Linked DNA regions of Homo sapiens: region 1 is linked to region 2. Evidence: promoter capture Hi-C in human tissues and cell types (Jung and others, 2019). All regions are on one chromosome and are shown on one strand. The core of a region is centred on a gene start or on the middle of the fragment in contact, and the rest is flanking DNA. Distances in the headings are between cores, read along the strand shown.

The links. Contacts are between HindIII fragments. The study calls those that stand out against the background at their distance.
Region 1: a contact is called between a fragment that was not itself captured here and the fragment with the promoter of B4GALT6 in region 2, in 3 of the 25 tissues and cell types used here (adrenal gland, hippocampus and liver).

Annotation. Positions count from the first base shown.
Region 1 is chr18:31,721,013-31,727,074 of GRCh38, forward strand. It overlaps a transcript of B4GALT6 not described here, the pseudogene LRRC37A7P and the pseudogene LOC390846. Among named protein-coding and RNA genes, the nearest start is that of SLC25A52, 37 kb to the right of the region's middle. RefSeq lists enhancers at 2,911-4,110, 3,340-3,439, 3,406-3,905. The HindIII fragment of the contact is 7,678 bases long and covers 1-6,062 here.
Region 2 is chr18:31,682,041-31,688,288 of GRCh38, forward strand. B4GALT6 (beta-1,4-galactosyltransferase 6) reads right to left here and starts at 2,541. Exons shown (of 9, transcript NM_004775.5): 1 at 2,272-2,541. The coding sequence starts at 2,386. RefSeq lists a silencer at 2,638-3,677. The HindIII fragment of the contact is 7,513 bases long and covers 1-4,261 here.

The DNA.
Region 1 (6,062 bases), core at 1,706-4,205, 39 kb after region 2:
GTGGAGACAGTGTGTCAGGCAAGTGTTCTTGTGCATTCTGCTTGCTGTCCTTGTGACTCATGTAGCAAGCTGCACTTTAGGAAGTTCTTGGCAGAAGTTCTTGTTACAGGCGTATGTGCATGAGAGTCCTTCAGAAAGTCTTTGTAACAGCGTATGTCCACCGGGGCCTGTCGGGGGGTGGGGGGCTGGGTGGGGGATAGCATTAGGAGAAATACCTAATATAAATGACGAGTTGATGGGTGAAGCAAGCCAACATGGCACATGTATACCTATGCATCAAACCTGCACGTTGTGCACATGTACCCTAGAACTTAAAGTATAAAAAAAAACCAACAAAAGTGGATGTCAGCAACTTCATGTTAAACATCTGTGTTACATTTCCATAGTAGAATGCCTAACATATACATTATAAACCATCATGAATCAAAACTGTAAAAAATAAAAACTTACAAAAAAAATAATGTGTGTCAACTTGACTAGGCAAGGGTGTGCAGTTGTCTGGTTAAACACTAGTCTAGGCATTGCCATGAAGATATTTTGTAGATGTGGTTAACATCTTTAAGCAGTTGACGCTAAGTAAAGCAGGCTACCCTTGATAATGTCGATAGGTCTTATCCAATCAGTTAAAGGTCTTAAGAACAAAGACGAAGGTTTCCCAGAGTAGAAGGAATTTACCTCCAGGCTGAAACATAGGTGTCTTTCCTGAGTTCCAGCCTGCTAGCCTGCCCTACAAATTTCAGACTCAAGACTACAACAATAACTCTTGCCTGAGTTTCTAACTTGGCATCCTGCCTTACAGATTTCAGATTTATCATCCCTCACAATTGTGTAAGCCAATTCTCTTTCTTTCTCTCTCTCTCTCTCTCTCTGTGTGTGTATGTGTGTGTGTGTGTATGTGTGTATGTGGGTTCTGTTTCTCTGGAGAGCCCTGATTGATACACTTGGCAGTATCTATCAAGTTGCAAACTCACATACCCTTCGAACTAGGAATTCTACACTAGGAATTCCACCCTCAGATGTACTCATGCATAAGTGAAATTATGCATACACAAGATTCTGTAGTACTGAAGAAATAATTAAATGCCCTTTACTGAAGTATTTAAAAATTATGGTATACACATAGCTAGAATAATTTGCAACCATAAACAAAAAAAAGCTTCCTGTATTCTTTTATAGAATCTCATCCAAGATAATATTAAGTGAAACCAAGATACAGAATTGAGTATATGGATACTACCATTCATATAGAAGGAGGAAGGAGCAAGGGTATTGTATACACAACACACACACACATACACACGTATTCTCTGGAAGAATACATAAGGAATTGGTAATATTGGGTAATATTGATTCTGGAGAATAAGAATATATTTTTGTAACTTTAGAGCTTGGTACCATATATCATGAAAACAAATCAATTGTGAGTGGAATTAAAAGGCACACCACATAACATTTATAAGGAAAGGATGCAGAATCCTGGGTGGCTGCTCACATTACAATGAGTCTTCCTCAGTAGTGCTCTCAGGTTTGTGATTGTTCTGCCCCCTAGAGGCGGCTTTGAGAAGTGCTTGAGATGAACGTCTCTGTGACTCCCTCATCAGCAGGCTCAGCTTAGCCTAGGAGCACAGGCCTGAAGTGGGTGCTCACAGGATGGTTTTCCTCTGCCTACTTGCCTTCATTTCATCTGGCAACAGTGGTTCCGGTAATGTTGGCAGTCAGTGGCTATCACGGTGGGAAGAATCAGAACTTGAATAAACCACAGCGCTACTATGATCCCGTTCTTAGTGGCAGAATCACACACAATAAAAGAGAATTTGAGGTCTTCAATCACTAATGAAATACCAAGACCTCTTTATTACTCAATTTGGGTCAAAAAATATCAGCTAGAAAAGGAAGTTGGGAATGATTATTCACGTTTATGAGTGTAGCCTCTGACATATAAATGAATTACATACTAATCATGAGGTTGGATTTTAAATCTTGGCATACTCAAAATGTACAGAAAAGACATGTTTTCACTGCAGGCTGCAGCTGAATAATGAAATATGAAAACTACATTTTTGAACTATTTAATTTTTTGAAATTTAAACATATAATTTAGCAATATAGCATACATATTTCCACCATCACACAATGTTAATGTTTTTCTTATTGGCTTCTAATTTCTTTTTTAATTATTGTTTTATAATAGATCCCTTTTATTGAAAGCTCACTGTTTGCAAAGCAGTCTACATTCATTATCCCATGAAATCCTCAAACAACCCTAAAAGGTAGGTGTCAGTACCACCGCACTTTGTGATTGTACCAGACAATCAGTAATAAGATAGGTAAGAATGGCTATGGGGGAAGTCAGCTGGGTTCTAGTTATAGTCGCATTTCAGAAAATTATTTAACATGCTGACTTTAACAACCTAAGCGTCTTCTCCCTGTGTGCACACAGGGTAGACCTCTGAAGAGTGGCGCTGTAGCTTCTAGGGTAAAGGCTGTGTTAAGTCAAGGCAGGATGACAGTTCAGCTTCCTCCCAGGCTAGTGCAAAGAGCTATTCACTAGGATTAAAGGCCTTCTCTCTCCCAGACTGAATTGCTCACCCCCCAAAACCCCTCCTACAGAAAATTTGGAGTCCTCGTTTATTCCCCGGCAGCCCCTGCCTAATAGGGTGGTGAATTAATTACCAAACATGCAACAAAGGATATCAAAGGTTTGGCGAAAATGGCAACATTTTGGAATAAATGACCGTAATGTGTGCTCTGCCTGCCACCCTAACTGGCGCACATTTTGCAGGTCAGTTGCTTTCCCTATGGCCAAGAGGAGGAAAAGCATCTCTCGGATTTCAGCTTGGAGGAGGAAGAGTTCAGGCTGCCAGAACTGGACTGGCACTTCTGAATATCCCGAGGCAAGGTCCCATAACTTCCTTGGGAAGCTCTGCCGCACCTCCAACCCACCCCACCCCACCCCACCCCACCAGGCTGCTGGAGTCTTGGGACCGCAGACCCCGCGGCCCAAATTCTTCCTCGCAGAGGGGAGGGGAGGGGTGTTCCGGCCGGGCAGGGCGGAAGGGAGGTTTGGGCTGGATTGTGGGATAAGATTGCCCTGGTGACGCGGAGCGGATCTGGACCCGAGCCTAATAAAGGCTGCGTAAATAAAGGTGTAGTTAATAAAGGACGGGATGGGGCGCGCGGTTGCCAGGGGCGCCAGCGTCTCGGGGCTGCCCTAATGGCTCCTGCTCAGTGCGCGGCGCCAGCGCTTGTCTTGTCCCGGCTGCGTCTCTGGGCCCCACGGGCCCCTCCTCACATGGCAACTATTGTGGCTACTAGTCCAGGCGGCTTAGCCTCTGGAGTGGGTCCAGGACCCGCTCCAGCTGACCTCTGACTCCCTGGGGCCAACTTAGCCCTGGTCTTCCCGCTCCTCCGATCTCCCACGCGAATCGCCGCCATGAGCTAACTCCCCACCCCCGGGCAGACCCGGGAGAGCTTTGATTACCTGGGGTCTTCTGCTTCCTCCCAGACGTCAGCTCCGCTTCAGGAATCGACTGAGACTTTGGCTCAGAGTTTGGTTCCATTCTTGGACACGGATTCAGCTGGAGAGCTGCCCCGGGGCCAGAGCAGTTCGCTGCTGCACACTGGGATCTGAATGACAAGCTGACTCGGCACAGAAGTCTCCCAGAGGTGGTTGCAATGCTAGACTGGGATCAGAACCAGGCCCTAGCTCGGCCTCTTTGCCTCAAAAGTAAGTTTCTAACTGTAGATCTAGATCAGGCTGCAGATCATCAGGCATATGAAATACTTGTTCCACCTCTAGATAGAAATCAAAAGCAAGGAACTTTACTGTTTCGCCCAAGAACCGGAAGAAAGATCTAGCTCAGCATCAAAGGCTTGCCAAGGTTGTTGTTGGAACTCCATACCGATTTGTATCAAAACCTCAGCGTCAGAAACAAACTCTGCAGAATGGGTATTTAGATTCAAGTATGGATATACTGTATCTGGGCAGCCTGCCTCCAGAACTCCAGGTGAGCTCAGATGAGCCTCCAGGGCCTCCTGAGCAAGCTGGACTTTCTCAGTTCCATCTAGAGCCTGAAACTCAAAATCCAGAAACCACTGAAGAGATCCAGTCCTCTACTCCAGCAAGAAGCTGCAGCGCAGCTTCCACAGCTCCCTGAGGTGGTAGAACTTTCTTCAACCAAAGCTGGAGGCCCCAGCTCTGCCTTCACAGTCCCTTGAGGGGGTCCACTCTTCAACAGAGCAGAAGGCTCCAGCACAGCAGCTACCTGCCTTTGAAGAGATCCTAGCCCCACTATTGATACATCATGAGGTAAATGTTCCATTGAAAAGTTGGAGTGAAGTTCAGCACTCACACTTGCCCAGTGTCACAATCAAACCTGTGGACGTGGAGCTTACGGTAACTCCAGAGCCAGGTAAGAAACTTACAACAAGCCAGGAACAGGCCCCAGCTCAGCCTCCAGAACACTCCAAAGAGGTGGGCTCTTCCTCAACCCAATTATAGCCCCCAGCTCAGACTCCAGACCCCCCTAAGGAGGTAGAACCTTCTCCAGTCCAGCAGAGTTCCCAGATGAGCCACCAGAGCCCCCTAAGGAGGTTGAACCATCTGCAACCCAGCAGGAAGCCTCAGGTCATCCTCCGAAGTCCACTGAAGAGGTCAGTCCTCCACTGCAGCAGGAGATACCAGCTCAGCCATCAGAGCCACCTGAGAAGGTCAAACCATCTCCAGTCATAAAGCAGCCCCCAACTCAGCTTTTAGAGCCACATTCAAAGTAATTAACTGGTATTATCTGTCCAAGAGATTGGATGGATAGGAAGTTAAACTTCTGGGAGATGCCTCATTATTTGTACCAGTGGCTCCACATTATTTCTTGATTAATTGTGCAGACTGAGAAGCTGACAGCTAGTTTTTCCAATTCAAGAGTCATCATGGGGATGTTCTCAATTGTTGTTAGTGGGACTTGTGTTGTTTCCATGTCGAGATATTGTAATGCCGGTAATTTAAACAGATAATAATCTCCAATAGTTGTCAGAGGATTGTGATTGAGAATTGTTAGTGGTGAAGGTTCGAGATAGAAGCTCTTCTTGCTGTCCCTCCTGCTGCTCCCTTGCATAGCACCAGTGCTGGAAGTTTCTGAGAGCAGTCTGCAGGTGCTGAACATCATACTTAAACTGGTCAACCCGAAGTTTGGCATTCTGCCTTTTATTAGGGGGCTCCTTGCTGGACAAAATCTCCCGATGTTCTAGATGGCTGAATATCTGGTCTGTGCTTGCTTGGATTTCACCTTCTACTAAGTGCACAGACTGCTTGTCTGCCGTCTCCAGGTGTCCCATGTGAGAATGTATCTCATGGACCTGCTTGTGCGTTTGCTGGTTCAGGGGCTCCATGTCACCGGCCCAGCTGGCCCCAACTCCAGCTCTGGCTTCCTTGGAATATGTCCTCGCAGCCCTGCTTCTAATTTATTTTTTTTAATTAAGATGCATTGGTTTTTTGCTGATCAAAAATTCTGACATATGGCCGGGCGTGGTGGCTCACGCCTGTAATCCCAGCACTTTGGGAGGCCGAGATGGGCGGATCACGAGGTCAGGAGATTGAGACCATCCTGGCTAACACGGTGAAACCCCATCTCTACTAAAAATACAAAAAATCAGCCGGGCATGTTGGCGGGCGTCTGTAGTCCCAGCTACTCGGGAGGCTGAGGCAGGAGAATGGCGTGAACCCGGGAGGCGGAGGTTGCAGTGAGCGAGATCGCACCACTGCACTCCAGCCTGGGCGACAGAGCGAGACTCCGTCTCAAAAAAAAAAAAAAAAAAAATTCTGACATATTACTGACAATTTCAAAAACAGGAAAAGTCTGACAGTATTAGTAGGGTTGACTAAAACAATATGAAATTGACTAAAATAAGTGGACTGTTTTGCAATTAAAAAATTTTAAGTCAATGCAAATATTTATAACTTTTAAGTCTCCTCTAAAAGATAACCAAAGAGCTTATTTAATCCTGTTTTAAATGATGTTAAATTCTTTGCAGATTATTACATAGGATATATTTTAGTAATGATTTAA
Region 2 (6,248 bases), core at 1,291-3,790:
TTGATTGATTGCTGCAGTATGGACTCAACAAGCCACATTTTTCATGGAACATCATTTTTACTTGAAAGAACAACTGAAAAACTATGGTTAAACTTGTGCATCTGACCTACATTTTCTCGAAAATGAGCAAAGTGAGCCTGACACTTCAAGAAAAACTGACAGTATTTGTTGCCAATGATAAAATTCAAACTTTCAAGCGAAAATCTGAATTTTGGAAAACTGCTTCCCAATACTTAAAGATACAAAAGATTAAAAAGGAGGCTTTTTTTGGCTAAATGGTACAGGGTTTTGGAAACAGATTCAGCTTGACAATTTCACAGCATTTTGTAAGTTTTTGGTTTGCACTCTTCTAACTGGTTTTAATAACTTATTATCATTTATAAGACCTACAAAAACAGAGTAGGTTAAGCCACATCAATCTAATTGCCTACAAGACACGTGCCAACATTTTTACATTATATCAGTGACCGTTCTATGGCAAACATTAAGCATTCAAATAAGGAAAATTTATTAGTGTTTCACACAAGTTGAATTAAGAATCTACAAATAATATACTGACGCACTAACTTTAAAAAAAAAGGGATGACTAGAATTCTGATTTCCTTTGGTTAGCTTTTTGAGTAATATAACTTTAACATGTTACTCATAATACTAAGAAAGTGGGAAAATTGTTATGTAAGTGTGAAAAAAACTTTCTCCAAAATCTTTCAAAGTTAAATTCCTAGTAAAAAAACATACCCCAAAGATGTCCAAACTTTTAAAGAGTTACATGAGAAAGTAAAAATTGCTATAGAATGAAGAGTTAATTTATAAGACTCCAAAATGGCAAAAAATAAAGAAAGCTCTTGTTGAGTATCTAGATAATATCAAATCCACTAAGCTACCACTGTCATTTGTACTATAGGCTTCAAGGGGTAGGTTTTTGTGAGGTTTTTTGTTTTTTCTGGCCTAAAGGAAAACTGCAATAATGTTAAAATATTCTTCAAACTTTACCCTAAAACTTCTATTTTGGGATACGTCAACGTTTCACAATGCATTTCTTCTTAAACATCATCATCTGAGTTTATACACCTCACTGAATCCAAAAATTAATTATTAAAGAAAAAGTCTCATAGTAATTTTAAGAAATGAAGCAGTCTGGATTAGGTTTCCATCTTCCTTCCCTGCTGCAATTCACTGCAATAATCTACTACACTCAAGACAATGCCCTGATCATTCCATCTGAAAATTCTGCAGGTGTTTTCACTCTGTAAGGGGCATTACATTTTTAGCTAACTCGGAACAAAGAGCACTGGCTCAAACGACCACAGTGTGTAAGGAGAAATGAGAGGAGATGCTCACTGTTACTAAGTAATTGAACATTAAATACGTAATAGCCAGGAAAAACTCAGAAAAGTTTTGGAAATATGACATATTTTAATATGCATGTGAAGTTCATAATTCTCATTCACTAGAATTAACGCCGCATTGGCTCCTTTTCAACAAATGGGGGACGAGGAATTCGGATATTTAATAAAGAAGTTAATTCAAGCAGTTTTACAAAAGTGTATTTTGCACCAAAGGCCAAAAAATGATAAACCGGTTAACATTTTAAACTACAAGTTCCCTTAGATAACGGTTATTTTAATCACTATTTTCTCAGAAGTCATCCTAACAGGTAGCAAAGGCAACGTACCCTTGAAAATAACACCCAAGCAGACTAAAATAATGGAGCATTGTTTTTACAAGACAACTCATCGCCTTAAAATTCCCCAAGTATGGCACAAAAAGAATGGGGTCCACTGACCCCATTCTAAAAAAGCGACCTAGGACCCTAGAAAACACACATTGTTGGACTCAATCACATTCCCTGCTGCTGGCTCCTCCATATTTTTACAACCAGTTATTATACCCGAGAGTGTTTGAATAAAACTACGATTAAGCACTCAGTTTAGGCTTAAAGACTTAACATTAAATGGATAAAGCTGTCATGAACACTCAAGAAAGCGACTAGGGCATCCCGGGCCATCACACTAATTTTGCTACGTCTATTTAATGCAATCTTTTACGTTATTAACAAACATGCATTAACAAAATGCATGCATTAACAAAACTCACATACCAAAGCCATGCCCTGAAGCAGTTTGACACGTCTGAAATAACATTTAAAACAAAACGCTTTTCTGCGGGCCCCTGTTTGAACAGCTTCCAAATCCCAGAAGTAACATCGGATAACAGCCTGCGCTGGCTGTGGTGTGACCAGGGGAAGCGAGGGTGTGTCTCGGTGCTTACCGATGCCTGGGGCCACATAGATGAAGTACAGACAGGACGAAGAGAGGGAGAAGAAGAAGATGAAGGCGAGGAGAGAGCGATTGGAAACCCGCATCATCCGCCTGAGCACAGACATCTTCCTCTTCCCTGCCAGCAGCCCAGGCTGCGCTCTCAGGCCGGACTCGGGGCCACTGTCCAGGCCCTAAACTTCCATAAATGTGCTGAGAACCCCGAGACTGCAGCGGGGTCCGCGCGGGGAGGCTCTGGGGAGAGGGCCCGAGCGGAAAAGAGGAAATGGGAGGGAGCGGACGGAATGAATGGGAGGCCAGAGAGTCGGGGGAGGGGAGGCGCGGAGGCCGAGGGACAAGAGGTGGAGGGGGGAGAGGGGACTGGGGGCTAGGGGCCCGGGGACGGCAGGACGGAAGAAAGCCGGGGAAGGGCGAGGAGGAGCGTTTTCTCCGCCAAGCAGCGGCGGGAGGAGGGGCTGCAGGTGGGAGGAGGCGCAGGCTGCGCGCCGCGGCGCCCCTGCGGAGAGGGGCAGCTAACTGCAGCACGCCCGGCTCCGCTGCCCGCGCCCGGCGGGGTCCCGCCGCGAAGCCCCGTGCTTAAGGTCCGGGCCGCCCGCGTCCGCTCGGCAGGCCCTGCGCCGCCTCCTACTCCGGGCCGCGGCGTCTCCTGCCTGCGCGGGGCTAGCGTGGGCGCCGGGGCCGCAACCAGCGCGCGCCACGCGCGGGGGCCCGCGGGGGCCCTCGGGGCCGAGGAGCTGGGCGCTCGCCTGCACCGAGCCGCCTCCTCATGCCGCGCCGGGCCCCGGCGCCCCGCGGCCGCCGCGGGAGCTGAGCACAGGCCAGGGCGGCGTCCCGGCCAGCGACGAACGCGCTCCGACTCCGGCCGCCGCCAGCTGCCTGCCTGGCCGCAAGGGCGGCAGCGGCATTACCGCCGCGCGCCCGGGGTGAGGCGCCCCCGCCGGGCCCGCGGACACCAGGCGAAGAGCAACCGGGCGACGCGCGCTGCGGGCAGAGCCGGGGAGCCGGAAGAGCAGAGGCCGAGCGCCGTCGGAGCCGCGTCTGGTTGGAGAAAGAGGCGGACGTGAAGGGGCGGGGGAGCCGCGGAGGAAAACCGGGACCGGCGGGAACGTCTCGAGACCCCTGCGCGCTTCGCGCGCTCGCTCGGAACTCGGCAGGCGGCGCTGCGCCGGGCCCCGAGGAAACCTGGAGGTCCCCGCCCTCCCCGCGCCCGAAACACCGCGCGTCCTGATAGGCCCGCGCCCAGCAGCCCCCTCCCCGCGCCCGCCGCACCGGGGCCCCACCGCCTCCTGCGTCACCGCCGCCCCCGCCCGCCCGGGGACCCCGCGGTGACCGCGCTGCTGGGGGTTGAGGGACGCGTTGCGAGCCCCGGATACATTGTACCCTGGGGGTACATAATGAAGGATGCTGTACCTGAAAGGAAAAGGGCATCTCCAAAAGGGGACTTCGCGGGTGGAATTTCCTTCCAAAATCCTCGAGGAACAAGGTGTATTTCCGACCTGGATTAATGAATCCCCCCTCCTATCCCGCACTTCCTGTGGAAACAGTGTCAGGATGTGGCGCGGACCTATGTGCGTCCCTTATACCAGGACTTGCCTTCAACGCTGAAGGTGAACCCTGGGTCATCCTCGCTGTATTCAGGCGGCGCTGCAAAGGCTTCTGGGCAGCCAATAGGCCCTTGAGCGCCTCAGCCCCATCTTGCTTCAGTAGGCAAACGGACGGGTGTCTTCATCCACCTCCTAGGCCGTGGTCTACCCTTCGTTCAAATGTTTCTTCCTGCTAGCTGACTGTCCAGGTCCTTAGCTGTATCACATTGTTCAAATGTGTGTGCGCAGGTGTTTCTTTTTCAACTAATCATGCAGGAAGTGGCGGGATGCCTTACTGCCATTATTTGCTGAGTATTTCCAGATGGAACTGTAGTTGATAGCCAATAAATTTGGTACGTTTTTATCGGGATGCGCATGCCATAGATCGTCCCTGAGATAATGCTTTGCAATGTGGAACCTGAAACACCTATGTATAAGCCCAAGCCTTTCATTAATATTAACTGTGAGACCCCTGGAAGCTACTACTTTGTGTGAGCCTGTTTTCTCCGCCCTCAAACAGTGGATATAATACCCCCTTGCAAGGCTGTGAGATTAAATGGATAACTGTGCATAATGCTAAGCATGGTGTCTGGGACGTAAGAGGTTCCTTATATCCCATTAGTTCACTAGGTGGGATCACCAAGTTGAAATTCATTTTTTAATATTTTGCTTGTTGGAGTACTCACAACTCAACTTCTCTGGCTAATTTGATGTTTAATTTGAAAGGTAATGACACTATTTTGTAACATTTTTAGATGCTTAAGGGAAATTTGAAATGCAAAGTGGAACAACATTAAAAGGAAACTCATTTGTAAAATAAAGAAAAACAAAATCTATGCAAGCCAAAGAAGTCATGAATGCTGAGGAAGCAAAAATTGTGATTTTCCCCTCTCCAATCCCACTGTTCATTTATCTTTATTTGCATCAGTTAGACTGGTTGTTTACAAAGCTAATACCACCATACCACTAGTCAAAAGAGAGTTCCATACCTTTGCTGACCTAGTGGTAGACCATTCTTCTCAGGCAAGGTTGGCTTTTTCAAAGGAAAGTTTACTATAAACTGAGAGAGAAGTAGTAACATTATAGAATTTGATGATTCATCTATAAGAAATCTGAAGACTGTACAGATGAACCTAGCTGGCATAGATGACTGCCATCGGTTTCTCCCCTAATTTTAACCCTATCTCTTGATTTCTCTTGTTCGGCAAGTGTCCCCCACGGTACTTGTTAAGACTGATTAGCTCTCCCCAGGAGTAGACTTTTATCTGTTGTACCAGAAAACAAGCCTAGTCGGTGCAGCCATTGTTGTGAGGATTAAATTAAATGAATTAATGCCTGTAAAGAGCATGGGAGAGGCTGGTACATGGTAAGCACCATTCGAGTATTTGTAAAATATATTTTTAGAAATCTCTCCTTGCAGTCACTCTCTGTCCACAGTAACAAATGATGGTTGTCTCTTTCTGCTTAAACACCAAATTTCCTAGTGGGTCACCCATTAAGTCTGTCTCTCATAGTCTGAGGGATGCCTCAGGGTCTCAGCTCATGTTTAAAACAGAGATAGATTAAATACTCAGTGCACAGGAAATGCTAACTGAGCCTTTCCAAACCCACAATATCAACTGATATTTCCTCAGGAGCCAAGTAAGCCCCATAACAGAGGAATGACCTTGCAGAAATCTAAAAGTCTATTTTTTAATGCCATTAAAAAGATCTTAATCCTGTAATAGTGAGACATAACTTACAACAGTAAGACAGAAATAAATTTTATTTAATGGCTTTGTTCTAAGTTTATTACCACCAAGTATTCCTTTTATTATTTTCTGTCCACTAGGGACACCGTGCTCTTAAATATTTGGGTATCAAACTGAATAAATTAAATCATAATTAATGGTTTTCTAGTTGTATTAATAAGAAGTATACACAGATTGCAACTGAAAAAAGAAAAATGTACTTGTTAATGAGATGGATGATATTTTACTTAGTCTGTGCTGACTGAGTGAGGATGAACAATATACACTGTGTTTTGAATTTGCTTGTGAGCATGGTAAAATAAAAATATCTAATTTTTTTCAGTGAATTGGGGGGAAGAAATGAAAGAAAATAGTGTATAGAATCTCTTTTATGGTAGCTAAAGATTCAGATCTTCATGTTACAATCACTGATTAAAAATAGTAATTATATCTGTTTAAATGCATAGTCTCAGCATCTGAGACTCAGCTAAAGAAAATTATTGGGTTGATGAATTATGCTTAGACAATTGAATTTGTATTTATATAATTGTAGATCATATAAAAGACATTGGCATGATTCATAAAATGGAATATTTATATACATATAATTGAGTGTATATATATATACATATATATATATACACACACACATATGT